Linked DNA regions of Homo sapiens: region 2 is linked to region 1. Evidence: promoter capture Hi-C in human tissues and cell types (Jung and others, 2019). All regions are on one chromosome and are shown on one strand. Each heading gives the region's core, a stretch centred on a gene start or on the middle of the fragment in contact. The rest is flanking DNA. Distances are from core to core; before and after follow the strand shown.

Region 1 (6,793 bases), core at 1,586-4,085:
AAATACAAAAGCCATGGGGAACTGGGTGGCTTAGAGCAGAGGGGTATTTTTTTAAATTATTTCCCTTCATCTGATGCTTATCTCTTTGACATGATGAAAAAAGGCTCAAGGCAGATTGTATAATAAACACATTGCAATGGCCCAGCCCTGTGTTAATCCTACAGTGGTTTAGCCATTGGTGACTGCTACATGACGCAGATGCTGACGCTGGATTAAGACTCTTGACAACAGAGATGGGTTGATCTGTGAGTGTTCTAAGAAGTGGGCCAACCCATCAATGTCTAAAGTCTATAGAGGGTTGGCAAATGCGTCAGATGATTTTTTAATTTTTTTTCTGAGGTTTACGGAGAGTTTCAGGCTGTGATTATCTAGCTTAAGAGGTAATTTTGTAAAAGAACTGGTACAAAACAGGGTGTGCCCCACTGCCAAATGAATACTATAGTTAACAAGTACTCTGTGAGATCAAGGACAAGGCTGCTTATTGTGGTCTGGGGTGATCACAGAAGGCCTTGGGAAGAAATTATTATGAAAGGGCCTTCAACAAGAATTTAAGATAATCCTTGCACTAATTAATCCCTTTTAAGTCAAATATTAAATCTCCCAACTTAATTTTTAAATTTGTCACTCTAAATTCTTACTTACAGACTGTCCCTGAATGGTGCTCTGTAACAAAAGATAATTTTTTGGCTAAATTATGAGTTTAGTAGGTTTCCATGAGTTGATCTGAGAATACAGCATCCATAGCATTGCTTCTGTGGGAAAAGGGGAGCTATTCTGAACTTCAGACAATCATTTACAAACCCATTTTTGAAAACTCTGCTTTGATTGGTTCTTTCTTTCAACAAGTATTTATTAAGTGCTCTTGATATGTCAGACACTGTTGCAGGCACTGAGGATACATCAGTGAACAAAACAAAAATCTCTTCCCTCATGGAGCTGACATTCTAGAGAGAAGAGATAGTTAATAAGCATAATAAATAATTGGTATAGTGTGTTGGAATAAAGAAAAAGTACCATAGGATAAAGGGATGGGGTGGGTGGCAATTCTAAATAGGATGGTCATTGAGAAGGTGACATTTAAGCAAAGTGTGAAGGCAGCTGGCCAAGGCCACCAACCACATTGGGAAAGAGCATTTAAGGTAGAAGGAAGAGCCAGTGCAAAGGCTCTGAGGCAGGAGTTTACCTAGTGAGTTTAAGAACAGCAAGGAAGCCAGTGTAGCTAGAGGTGGGAGAGAGGAGAGAGAAGATGAGGTCAGAGAGGTAACTCATGTAGTGGCAGATAGAAGACTTGCCAGATCATACAGGGCCTTGCAGGCTATTCTAGAGCTTTTGAGAAAATGAGGAATCACTTGTATTAGGCCGGCTTAAAATAGGGCCATCTGTATAAAAATAATTCCTCTTTAAATTGTTTCCTTAAACTTAGGGGTGTATACAAATCACCCAGGATCTTGTTAAAATTCAAATTCTGACTTAGTAGGTCTGGGGAAAGGCCTGAGATTCTGCATCTTTAACAAGCTTTCAGGTGATATCAGGCTGCTGGTCCACAACCACACTTTGAGTAATGAGGTCCCGGGGCTTTTGGGCTTATCTCTCCACTAGCTGGTTACAAGGGCCTTTTTGTTCCCTTTGAGCCTGAAAAGACCACCTCAAAAGGTTTTTCTTTATATTTTTACATTAGCCACAGGTCCCCTCACTGTTCATGGTCCTATTACCTCACTAGTAAGAGCGTGGTCCAGGGCTGCCTCCGGGACTGTGGGGGAGGTTGTCCGGCTGTTTCCATGCACAGTGTAAGAAGTTTCTAGGGCTTCTGCAGTGCCACGTGGAGGCTCTGCTTCTGAACCTCAATCTGCTCCCTGAATAATAATTTCACCTCTCACCACATTCTTGTCTTACTCCAATTACAGGAGCTCTAATACAGGTCTTCACTTCTGGTCCTATACCTAGAGTGATAGTCCAGATCTGTAAACTGAGGCAGCTGGGGGACTCGGGTGATGTTCCCAGGCAGAAGAGGTGGTCAGGTGGTCCACGGAAGCCTGTTTGTTAAGGAGCAAGGCTGATTTCTTAAGAGCCAGCCCAGTAATTGACAGTGGAACAAGTCTGGAAGGACTTGCCATTTCCAAATATAAGGCATAGGATACGGAGTCCCATGGGCTTGAGTTTGAATTGTGCTTCCATCCCTTACTGTGTAACCTGGGGAATGTGCCCGGGTGTCTCTGAGATGCAGTTTTCTTATCTCGAAAATGGGAATGATATCAACACCTCCTTTGTAAATTGAGATAATGCATTTAAAGCACCTAGTAAAGTGCCTGGCACAAATGATACAAAATACTAGTTGCCATTATTTTTATAATTTCTACTATCATCTTACTGCGTACCAAATCGCTTTGACGCCCGGCATTATAGCATCCACCTTTACGTTCTCTGGAGTTAAGGTACCAGAGCAAATCCCTCAGCAAAGGTGTTCAAAGAGAGACACACACGCCCGAGCACTTTCTTCATGACAGATGCCACAAGAGATAACTGGAGGAGCTGAAGATGTTTAGTTTAGAAAACAGGTGATGGGGGACAGGTGGTGATGGCTCTTAGCGTTGCCTTGTTCAACGAGACCCTGAGAGCACGATGAGCCCGCGCGGAAGAGATGAAATGGCAGCACCCCCGCGAGCGCATATCAGAGAAACTCGCCGAGACCTAAAGCGAGTCCGCGCGAGATGGGGGTGGGAGCGCCCGCGGGGGTCGTCTCCTGCGCAGCCGCAGCGGCGGCGCCAATCACCGGGCGCATCACGTCCTCTCGCGACGGTACAGTTGTACGTTCGTGACGTCGGCGGTTGCCGTGGAGAGACCCGCTCGGTCCCGACCGAGAGCTGGCGTCAGGAGCCGCAGGGTCACAGCGTGTCTTTGAAGCTGCCTCCGCCGCCACCATGAGCGGCCGAAGTCGGGGTCGAAAGTCCTCCCGCGCCAAAAACCGGGGCAAAGGCCGCGCCAAAGCCCGAGTCCGCCCTGCTCCGGACGACGCCCCGCGCGACCCGGACCCTTCACAGTACCAGAGTCTCGGGGAAGACACCCAGGCGGCACAGGTGCAGGCTGGCGCGGGGTGGGGTGGCCTGGAAGCCGCTGCGTCCGCGCAGCTCCTCCGGCTCGGGGAGGAGGCCGCCTGCCGGCTCCCCCTGGACTGTGGCCTCGCGCTGCGGGCCCGAGCTGCGGGGGACCACGGGCAGGCCGCGGCCAGGCCCGGCCCGGGGAAGGCCGCATCTCTCTCGGAGCGCCTGGCCGCAGACACTGTCTTCGTGGGAACAGCGGGAACCGTGGGAAGGCCGAAAAATGCCCCCCGCGTTGGAAACCGGCGTGGCCCTGCCGGGAAGAAGGCCCCAGAAACCTGTAGCACCGCGGGGAGGGGGCCTCAGGTCATAGCTGGTGGGAGGCAGAAGAAAGGGGCGGCAGGGGAGAATACCTCGGTGTCAGCTGGGGAGGAAAAGAAGGAAGAGAGGGATGCAGGGTCGGGGCCCCCAGCGACGGAAGGCAGCATGGATACGCTGGAGAACGTGCAGCTGAAGCTGGAGAACATGAACGCCCAGGCGGACAGGGCCTACCTTCGGCTCTCCAGGAAGTTTGGGCAGTTGCGACTGCAGCACTTGGAGCGCAGGAACCACCTCATCCAAAATATCCCGGGCTTCTGGGGGCAAGCATTTCAGAACCATCCCCAGCTAGCATCCTTTCTGAATAGCCAAGAGAAAGAGGTACTGAGCTACTTAAACAGCTTGGAAGTGGAAGAGCTCGGCCTTGCCAGATTGGGCTACAAAATCAAGTTCTACTTCGATCGCAACCCGTATTTCCAAAATAAGGTGCTCATCAAGGAATATGGGTGTGGTCCTTCTGGCCAGGTGGTGTCTCGTTCTACTCCAATCCAGTGGCTCCCAGGGCATGATCTCCAGTCCCTAAGCCAGGGAAACCCAGAAAACAACCGTAGTTTCTTTGGGTGGTTTTCAAACCACAGCTCCATTGAGTCTGACAAGATTGTGGAGATAATCAACGAAGAATTGTGGCCCAATCCCTTGCAGTTCTACCTTTTGAGTGAAGGGGCTCGTGTAGAGAAAGGAAAGGAAAAAGAAGGCAGGCAAGGTCCAGGAAAGCAGCCAATGGAGACTACTCAGCCTGGGGTGAGCCAATCCAACTGATCCTGCACAAGTCTCCCTGCTACCTCCTGCTGGGCTGCTCCTGGTTGACTACATATTTGGCTCTCTGCCTTCTCTTCATGTTGGCCTCTGTGTACTATAGACCCTTTGGACTTTAGTTACAAGAATATGGCATTTATGATCATGTTCTTTTGCCTCCCATAGCCTCTTGCTTTTCTACGTTAGTGTCACATGTTATGTGATCGCACCCGGACTGTTCATATGTTAAGCACACATACTTTAGATGTGTGCTCCCTGTTATCTACATTGCCTGGACCTTGTTCTTGGCTCTGGCCTTTCCTACTTGTCTTTAACATGGACACTCATGAGTCATCCTCCAGGACGACCAGTGCATCCTCAAGCTCTGCTCCTTCAGGGCCAGTGACTTGCTGGGCTTCGTGTTCATGCTGGCCATGCATGTCATCTATGCAAGCGTTTCCATTGCCACTGCAGAATGAAGCCAGTGCACATGGTATTAGTCATCAGCCAGAACTTCCTGTTCTGTGGGTCTGGGGTCACCAGCTGAGATGTCACCTGCTTTATTTCTGGCTTTGGCCTGTGGTCTGTGATACCCATCCTGCTTGATGTTCTGCAGAATGGCACTTGACTGCTGGGCATGCATGAAGTTAAGGGCAAGAAACAGTATGCCATGTGTTCTGTACCATCATGTGTCTCTTCTTGCTTCTGGGCCCTTCTACTGGTGAACTTTCATCAAGATCTGCGCCATGCCGTGTCACTATCAAGCCATTAAGTTTTGTCTGGGTTGCTGTCAGCCCCAGTTGGCTTCCTGGTCAACAAGGACCTCAAGAACTGCCTGTGGACCGAGGCCCCCTACCAGTGCATGAGACACACACCTACCCTCCCCAGCTTTCCAGGAACCCTACTGGCTGCCAGACTGATGGGCGGGCTGGTATGTGTGGACATGTGTTCACTGTCATTATGCTGTGGCTCCAGGTGAGGGTGAGGACTGGGCCTATATAGAATCCAGATACCATTGTCAACTTCCCTTATTCCCGTCTAAGATGTGAGCAGAGTGCCATAGTAGGGGTTCTGGGAAGAGGTATTTCTGATTTGTGGGCCTCTGCTTGCTTGACTTCAGGTCACTTATACTTCTTATTTTGCTTGCCTGCCTTCATCCCTCATTTCCTCCCTCTCATTCTTCTTTCCTCCCTCCCTTTCCTGGTAGCCTCCTTTCCTCCCCTTCTGCCTTCCCCTTCCTTCTTTCCTTATTCTTTTTTATTTTGTTTAAATAGTACCACAGAGAAAACAACTGAAAAACCACATTTTTCTACATACAGCTGGGGAGGTAGCTGAGAACTTGGCACTGCGCACACATACTAGGTTGAAAGAGAGTTGAGGAAACCAGAAGGCCAAGTGGATCTGCTGGCAAACCCTGAACCTGTCTCCTGCGCTTGCTCTACAGTTCTGAAGTTGAAAATCCTTTTCATGCCTAGCATCTGCTTGAGTTATAAACCCCAAGGCAGCCATGTCATAGACTAGTGTTTACTCTTGTTTTGACTTTGTTTTAATGCTTCCTAAGACCCAAGTGCCTCCTGCTGTTTCCTCCTTTGTGGTAGCCTCTGGCCATCTGGACCTCAATCCCCAGCTTTCCCACTTTCAGCAGTCCTTTGCTCTCTTTGCTTCTACCTCAAATAGCCCCAGGAGTGGGCTTTAGTCTCCAATATGGAGCATCTCAAGCTTCTCCTGGGGGATGGGGATTGGGATGGGCAGAATCTGTTTTGGATCTCCGGGTTATTTCCAGTGGGTGTAAAAGCAGAGCTGGGCCTTTCCCTCTCTTATCCCTGAGGGTGGGTAAGAAGGACTGTATCTACACCTGTTCTTCCCTACCTTCTCTTTTGTTAGGGAGGCCTCATTCTAAGTTCCTCAAGAGAGTCCTTGGCTTAAAGCTGTAGCAAGGGTGTGCTAGGTGGGGGATTTGGAGCAAAACCGTCGAGTAGGCATGATACTGGTATGGAGTGGGCCTGCAAAATCAGACAGAAATGGCTTGAGAAGCCGCAGGGGGAGCATGCCTGTCTCTCAGTGATAGAGTATGGGAGGGACCTCCCTAGCTTGGAAAATGAGAATTGAAGGGGTTATGAACAAATAGGATGCCTAGTTGAGGATGTTCCCAAAGTTTTGTCCAATCTTATCATTAGTAGATTTTATAAGCCACAGAGACAAACCAGAAACGGAATAATGTTACTTTGGATGCTTTATTTTTTTGTTCTAGGTGTGGCTTTGTACATGCAGAAGAATGCTATATGCTGCACATTTTGCCTTTAAAGTCTTACGACTTTCCCCATTTTAGTCTAATGGGAAGATACAGATGTGCAAGTCTGCTTTTTTGTTTTTTGTTATTATTTTTTTTTTTTTGCTCTGTGTTATGGACATTTTCAGACATGCACAGAAGTGGAGAGGATGGTCCTTGGACCCCATGTGTCCATCACCTAGCTGCATCACTTATCAGCTATGGTCAACCTGGTTTCATCTGTATCTCTCTCTTTTCACCTGTATTGTTTATTGAAAATCCAAGACACTATGCCAATGCAACCGTGACTACTTTGGGAGATTGGTAGTCTCTTTTGATGGTGATAGTGATGGGGTGCACTATCATAATCACATCA
Region 2 (6,793 bases), core at 1,470-3,969, 34 kb before region 1:
CAACATTGATAAAAGCTGCTGGTTTGGTTATTTTAAAAGGTGTTTTAGCTGAGGCACATACCTTTTAAATGAGAACTCTTGTCTGCTTATGCCTGTTTTTGCAGATTACACACAAGTCAGTCAAATGATCCATTCATTAATTCCCTCAATAAATATTTGTTAAGGCACTGACTGGATGAGAAGCTTGTGACCACTTTGCAGAGCTTATGCAGTTCTACAAACTGAGAGTTAGTATGAGGAAGATGGAAGTTACAGGTCAACTTGACCTAGGAAAAGAAACCCTGCCTTTGAAGTTCTACCCTAAAGATGGGAGGATGGTAGATGATGTTGATCCAGGCTGGCTTGGCAGAGCACTGATGGACCAAGAGAAAAAAAAGATGTCTCAATAACCCCAGGATGGCCGCTTGAAGGACCAGAAAACATTGACTCTATTTAAAAAAGAACATGGTCCTTTGGTTGCTGCTGCAGTGGGTAACAAATCACAGGGCTGAGTCATAAAAACAGTAAGACAATAGAAATTGCATGGAGCAAATAGCACAAATCGGCCATATATCAATTGGGTCAAATTACTAGCATTAATGCACTACAATTCTAGACTATGTGGAAAGTGTCCTGGACAATTTACTAATTAATTAGTTCAATGATACAATCATTCAATCAATGCTTTTTATGGATTTATTTTTATTGAGCACCTGCTATGCACTAGGCCTTAGGCCTTAGCTAGGTCTCAAGTCTTAGGTCCTCCAAGGAATTGTGATGTATAAAACAGTCCCCAACTTTGAGGAGGTTAGTGTAAGGAAATAGGTAAGTAAATCAACAACTAAACTGTACTTTGGAAAGACAATAACAGAGTACTTGAAAAGCATCTAACTCACTCTGGTAAGAGAGCCATGAGCAAGGGACTCTGGGTGAAGAAGCCATGGCCAAAACTGTTGGTAGCCTCCCCCAGTCACTGTCTCTGCCTCTGTCTTTGCCAAGAGAACACTAATTTTATTCTATATGAGGCAGAGTGTACTCAAAGAAGATACCTTTCTTCCCGCAGTCACAGATAAGCCACAACAACTCTTCTCCCTTTGTCAGTCGTCTGAATACAGTAAACGGGAGACCCAGATCTTAAGGGAACCAGATGCAAAGTCTGCTGGGAAAGTTTTTCTCTCTGATAAAAAGGAGAGGTGTCTAAGGGGAATTCCTCACTTCTTTTCTTGTTTTGACTATGGCTTTGTGTGGATCTGATGTTTAGAGTTAAGGCATGTATTTTGAGTCCGTACCGGGAAAGCCAAGACAAAAAAAAGGCAGCCCAGAGTTCAGACATCCTCCAGCTGCTAAATTAACCAGCTGTGAAACTGCTGCTGCAGACATCTTACTGGGGAGATAAACCTCTTTATTATACTATTAAATATCTAGTTGGATATTTTGTTAGTTGAGCTGAAAACATCCAAACTGATACAGAAGTCTCCCTGAAGGAAGTTCTGAGCTGAGGCTTGAAGAGTACGTAAGACTTAGCCAGACAAAGATATGGATAAGGGACCTTCCTGGAAGACAGGTATAAAGGCACTGAGCCTAGAGAGAGGAGCACCTTTGGGAACCACAAGTACTTCATTGTGGTTATAGCAAGAGGTGGGGTTTGAGAGAAATGCAGGACCTTGTGTGCTTAGAAGAAGCTTAGAGTTTATCCTAAAATAATCTGGAGTCATCAAAGGCTTCTCCTGGATTTGCACTTTTTAGAGATGACTCTGGTGGCCATAGAGAGGACAGATCAGGGGGTCTGGGATGAAAACAGAGAGCATAGGTAGGAGAATCCCAATATGAAAAGACAAGGGTGGTGGTGAAGGGGATGCAGAGGACGCAGGTTTGGGAGATGTTCAGGAGGCAGAATGCACAGTACTTGAAGTCCTATTGAATATCACAGGGAAGACATAGGGAGGTGGAAGAGCCAACTCTAGAATTTCTGGTTGGGTATCTAGGGGGACAGAAGTTCTCTCACTGAGACAGAAAATTAACAAGGAAGGGCAGGTTGAGGTGGTTTGAAGTGGGAGACACTGCTGGTAAGCATATGATGGGTCGGGAGACAAGGGGATGATAAACTCAACTTGAACATATTGTTTAGGAATCCTGAGGGACAAATTGAGGGTTTCCAGGAAGAGTTAGATAAGTAGGATTGAAACCAAGTGCTGCAAAGGGGCCTCATCAGGAGAGACGAAGGGTCCAGGGATGCTGTTGAACTCTTGCGATTGGGTACATACTAGAGACTGAGATGAGAAGCCTGCCTCTGGAAATACACAAACTTTAGAGGCAAAAGGGAGGAGAAAGTAAAAAGGAGAAGGTGTTTCAGAGGAGGTTCTTCTTGAGTAGGGAGAAGAGAGGACATATAGGTTGGCAGGCATGGATGAGCAAGGAAAGAGATAAGCATGGTGCTGGTGTGAGGGGAGGGAGGCATATAGGCACAAAGAAAATCATGAACCTTGTAAACTGTGGGTGCATTCAGGGCCGGAATGTCTGTACAGCATGGTAAATAAGTCAGTGATTGATTATAACCAGAACCTGGCACTCAGACTTAACTATGGCAGCTGAAGGTAGACAGAGTAGAGTGTTTTTTTTCTCCTGCCTGGAGGGATCTCAGTCCCAGGGCACAGGGACTGAGGTCCCAATAAATAAGATCTCCACAGTTAAGCTTGGGCTCTATTTTCTCCATTCTTTGCAATTAATTACTGTGGTCATTACAATCTCATCTTTCTCCACTCTAAATCCTGCATTTGGTGTCTGATACTGATCTATGTGATTACACTCTTCTCTTAATATTGACCTGGTTTTATGGCATGAGATACACTTCCAAATGATAAAGCTTGTTTTCTTTGAGATAAAAAGGGTTGGAAAAGAAATTGACTACAGTGTCTGCAGAAGGAGAAAGGAAATAAACATGTTGGGATAAACATGGACATTTTAAGCCTCAAACTGTGATCTATTAGGAACATTTATATCTAAAAGGCAGCCCTGTAGACAGCCATGAGCAGAAAATGTTTGGGTTGCAAATACTAAATACTTCAGGGAAAACATCCCTCTTTTAAAATAATCCAATTCAAAAGAAAGAGAACTGAAACTGGATCCCATCTTTAATTTGTGCTAAAAACCATGAGGTCAAAGTATACAATTTATGAACAAAATTATCCTTGGCTTCTTGAACTGGCGCCATTACCTTCCTCAATGAAAAGAGAAAAGAGACAAAATAACCATTCTCTCAGAACTTATTTCCTCTCTGAGTGGGGCTCTTGTTTAATTGGTTTTGCTTTGAGCAGAAATGGGAAGAAAATGTTGTAGGGTGAACCCATCAAGGCACAGCTCCCAGACACCTGGCTCTTCAAATGGATGAGACAGAATAGAAGATATTTTGACATTTTGTTTTATTTCTCTAACTTGGCTCAAGTCATTTACTTTTCTTCTCTGTCTGCACCAGAGAAAGAGATACCTCGTAATTCTTGTCAGGGACAAAAACCCTCGAAAAACCAAAAGCCTGCAACTGCTTGACAATGCAGTGGGCTGGAAGCATGTAGACACACGTGGTATGAATTGAAGGGCTCCATGAAACTTTCTTTATAACCCATAATACAAATAGTTTTCCTAATTCCTCCATGGTGCCTAGAATTCCTGTTTGATTCATTCCTTTATGGGAGGATATGTCAGTGTTTCGGATTACTCTAATTAAATGAGGACACCCTGCCAGCTTATTAGCTTCTGGATGGCAGGGGCTGTCCTATCTTCCTTGGTATGCCTCGTTGACAGCAAGTACAATCCATAAACATGGTAGGTGTTCAAAAGTACAAGTGGAGAGACAAAAGTAAGCATAGTCAACCATTATGATCATGGTGTGATGGTTCATTTATTAAATAATTCTCCAACTAAGAACACCAAAATCTTATGCTCATACAGAAGAAGGAAAGTTAGGTTGGTTTGGGTGCCTCAGCAGACCAGGAGTAGGGGAGGATGGAGTGAGATGGCTGGGGCCTGGGGCACCAGACTTATAATAGAAATATAATGTGAACCGTCTGGGCGTGGAGGCTCACGCTTGTAATCCCAGCACTTGGAGGCTGAGGTGAGTGGATCACTTGAGGTCAGGAGTTCGAGACCAGCCTGGCCAACATGGCGAAACCCTGTCTCTAATAAAAATATAAAAATTAGCTCAGCATGGTGGCACACGCCTGTAATCCCAGCTACTTAGGAGAGTGAGGCATGAGCATCGCTTGAACCCAGGAAGCGGAGGTTGCAGTGAGCTGAGATAGTGCCACTGCACTCCAGCTTGGGCAACAGAGTAAAACTGTGTCCAAAAAATAAAAAAAAAAAAAAAAAAAGGAAAGGAAGGAAGGAAGGAAGGAAATGTGAACCACATAGGTAATTTTAAATCTTTTAATTTAGAAAAGGTATTATGTTGGTGCAAAAGTTATTACTGCCTTTGGCATTACTTTCAATGGCAAAAACTGCAATTATTTTTGCACCAACTTAATAAAAGAGAAAAAAATGGCAAAAGAAATAAATAAAATTAATTTTAGTATGTTATGTTTAACCCCCCAAATTATCATTTGAACATCTAATTACTACAAAAACTACTGAGATATTTTATTTCTTTTCATACCAAGTCCTCAAAATCCAGCATGTATTTTAATCTTACAGCACATTTGAATTTTGAAGAGCTGCATTTCAAGAGCTTAATAGCCATGTGTGGCTATCACAGTGGACAGCATGGCTCTAGAAGGCTCATTGTCAGAGAGGGAACAAGAGGGAGGGAGTGGGGCATGGCAGTTGGGGAGATGGGAGTCAGGAGCAGGAGAAGGAGATGCTGGAGGACAGCTGGGGTGAGAAAGGCATCAAGGATGTGATTTGTAAGTTTACTGGGACATCTTTGGTCTGATGGCCGGAACCATTCTCAGGCATGTTTGGCTCAGGCTGGACCAGGAGGATTCTCAGGGCCTGAGTGTACAGTTCCTTTGAGTGGAAGATGTGTGTTTCCTTTGGTGCCTTTGAAGTGAATTAATTCAACACAAAGTCTCTTAGTTTAATAAGTCCCAATAATTAATAGGATACCCAAAATTATCAATTATTTTCTTCTGGAACAAATTACCACCTCCTAGAGGACCATAAGCAAATTATCATCTTCTAGAGCAGCAGTCCCCAACCTTTTTTGGCACCAGGGACTGGTTTCATGGAAGACAATTTTTCCATGGATAGTGGTGGTGGGGGATGGTTTTGAGGTGAAACTGTTCACCTTAGGTCAGGCATTAGATTATCATAAGGAGTGTGCAACTTAGATCCCTCACATGCACAGTTCACAATAGAGTTTACACTTCTGTGACAATCTAATGCCACCACTGATCTGACAGGAGGCGGAGTTCAGTCAGTAATGCTCGCCCAACCTTCATGCCACTCACTTTCTGCTGTGCAACCAGGTTACTCACGGGCCATGGACCAGTACCGTGGGGGTTGGGGACCCATGTTCTAGAGCAGGTATATCTGGCCAAACTATATCCCCATAAGTCTAGATTTAATGCCATGGAGACTGTAGCAGAGGCAATGAGAAAGAGGAATTTTCAGTTTCATCTTTATCAAAATGCCAACCATTCTATCTAAGATACTTGTCCATAGCCTATAACCTTTTAATTTAAACTCAGCTGGGAGACATCTTCCATAAAGAGGTGACATCGCACTGGTTAACCATATTGGAGGCGAGTGTAGAAGCCACACCTGAAAACCATTTTCTTCGTTAGGGACTGAATGTTGATGTGTTCCTGCTTTCTTGCCAAATTTAGAAATTCACAGCCGGGTGTGGTGGCTCACGCCTGTAATCCCAGCACTTTGGGAGACCGAGGTGGGCAGATCACCTGAGGTTGGGAGTTAGAGACCAGCCTGACCAACATGGAAAAACCCTGTCTCTATTAAAAATACAAAAATTAGCTGGGCATGGTGGCACATGTCTGTAATCCCAGCTACCCGAGAGGCTGAGGCAGGAGAATTGCTTGAACCCAGGAGGAAGATGTTTCGGTGAGCCAAGATCACGCCACTGCACTCCAGCCTGGTCAATAAGAGCGAAACTCCATCTCAAAGGAAAAAAAAAAAGAAAGAAAGAAATTCACAGCAGTGGCAGCCCTAGTCACCAAGCCTAATTCAGGGTCTTATTTCTCTCCTGTAAAGCAAACTAAAGCTTTAAAATGTTATGTTATTTTATTTTTTTAGGCAGGGTTTTGCTCTGTAGCCCAGGCTGGAGTGCAGTGGTGCAATCACAGCTCATTATAGCCTTGACCTCCCAGGCTCAAGCGATCCTGTCACCTCAGCCTCCCAGTTAGCTGGGACTACAGGCATGCACCACCACACCCAGCTAATTTTTTTTTTGCCTCATAGAGACAGGGTCTCTCTATGTTGCCCATGCTGGTCTCAAACTCCTAGGCTCAAGTGATCCTCCTGCCTTGCCCTCCCAAAGTGCTGGGATTATAGGCTTGAGCCACCATTCCCTGACCATAACTTTGAAATTTTAGGATTGTGTTTGTCTTTTTTATACCCCTCTAGATTTTGTCTCTGGGGTTCTTCATGCTGAGAGCTAAGGAGTCAAAGATTTCTGGATCTTCCCAGCATTCATTGTTCAAACACAAGTTTTCCACCTTCACTTCCATATATGGGATACTCCAGCCTAGGAGGTATAGTCCCATCAGACCAATATGTAACCTGAGGCCTGCAACTATTTTCTTCCTGCTTTGCTTCCTTTCAGAAGGTCTCATCTTCACTGGGGCTTTCTTTGTCCAAATTCCATGGA

Evidence for each region. Contacts are between HindIII fragments. The study calls those that stand out against the background at their distance.
Region 2: a contact is called between a fragment that was not itself captured here and the fragment with the promoter of TSPYL5 in region 1, in 1 of the 25 tissues and cell types used here (H1 embryonic stem cells).

Annotation. Positions count from the first base shown.
Region 1 is chr8:97,273,970-97,280,762 of GRCh38, reverse strand. It overlaps TSPYL5 (TSPY like 5), which reads left to right and starts at 2,835. Exons shown (of 1, transcript NM_033512.3): 1 at 2,835-6,793. The coding sequence starts at 2,919. The coding sequence ends at 4,172. All of the region lies in intron 2 of LOC101927066 (a long non-coding RNA gene), which reads left to right. RefSeq lists an enhancer at 3,297-3,798. The HindIII fragment of the contact is 7,330 bases long and covers 1-6,793 here.
Region 2 is chr8:97,307,936-97,314,728 of GRCh38, reverse strand. All of the region lies in intron 2 of LOC101927066 (a long non-coding RNA gene), which reads left to right. Among named protein-coding and RNA genes, the nearest start is that of TSPYL5, 33 kb to the right of the region's middle. The HindIII fragment of the contact is 3,593 bases long and covers 923-4,515 here.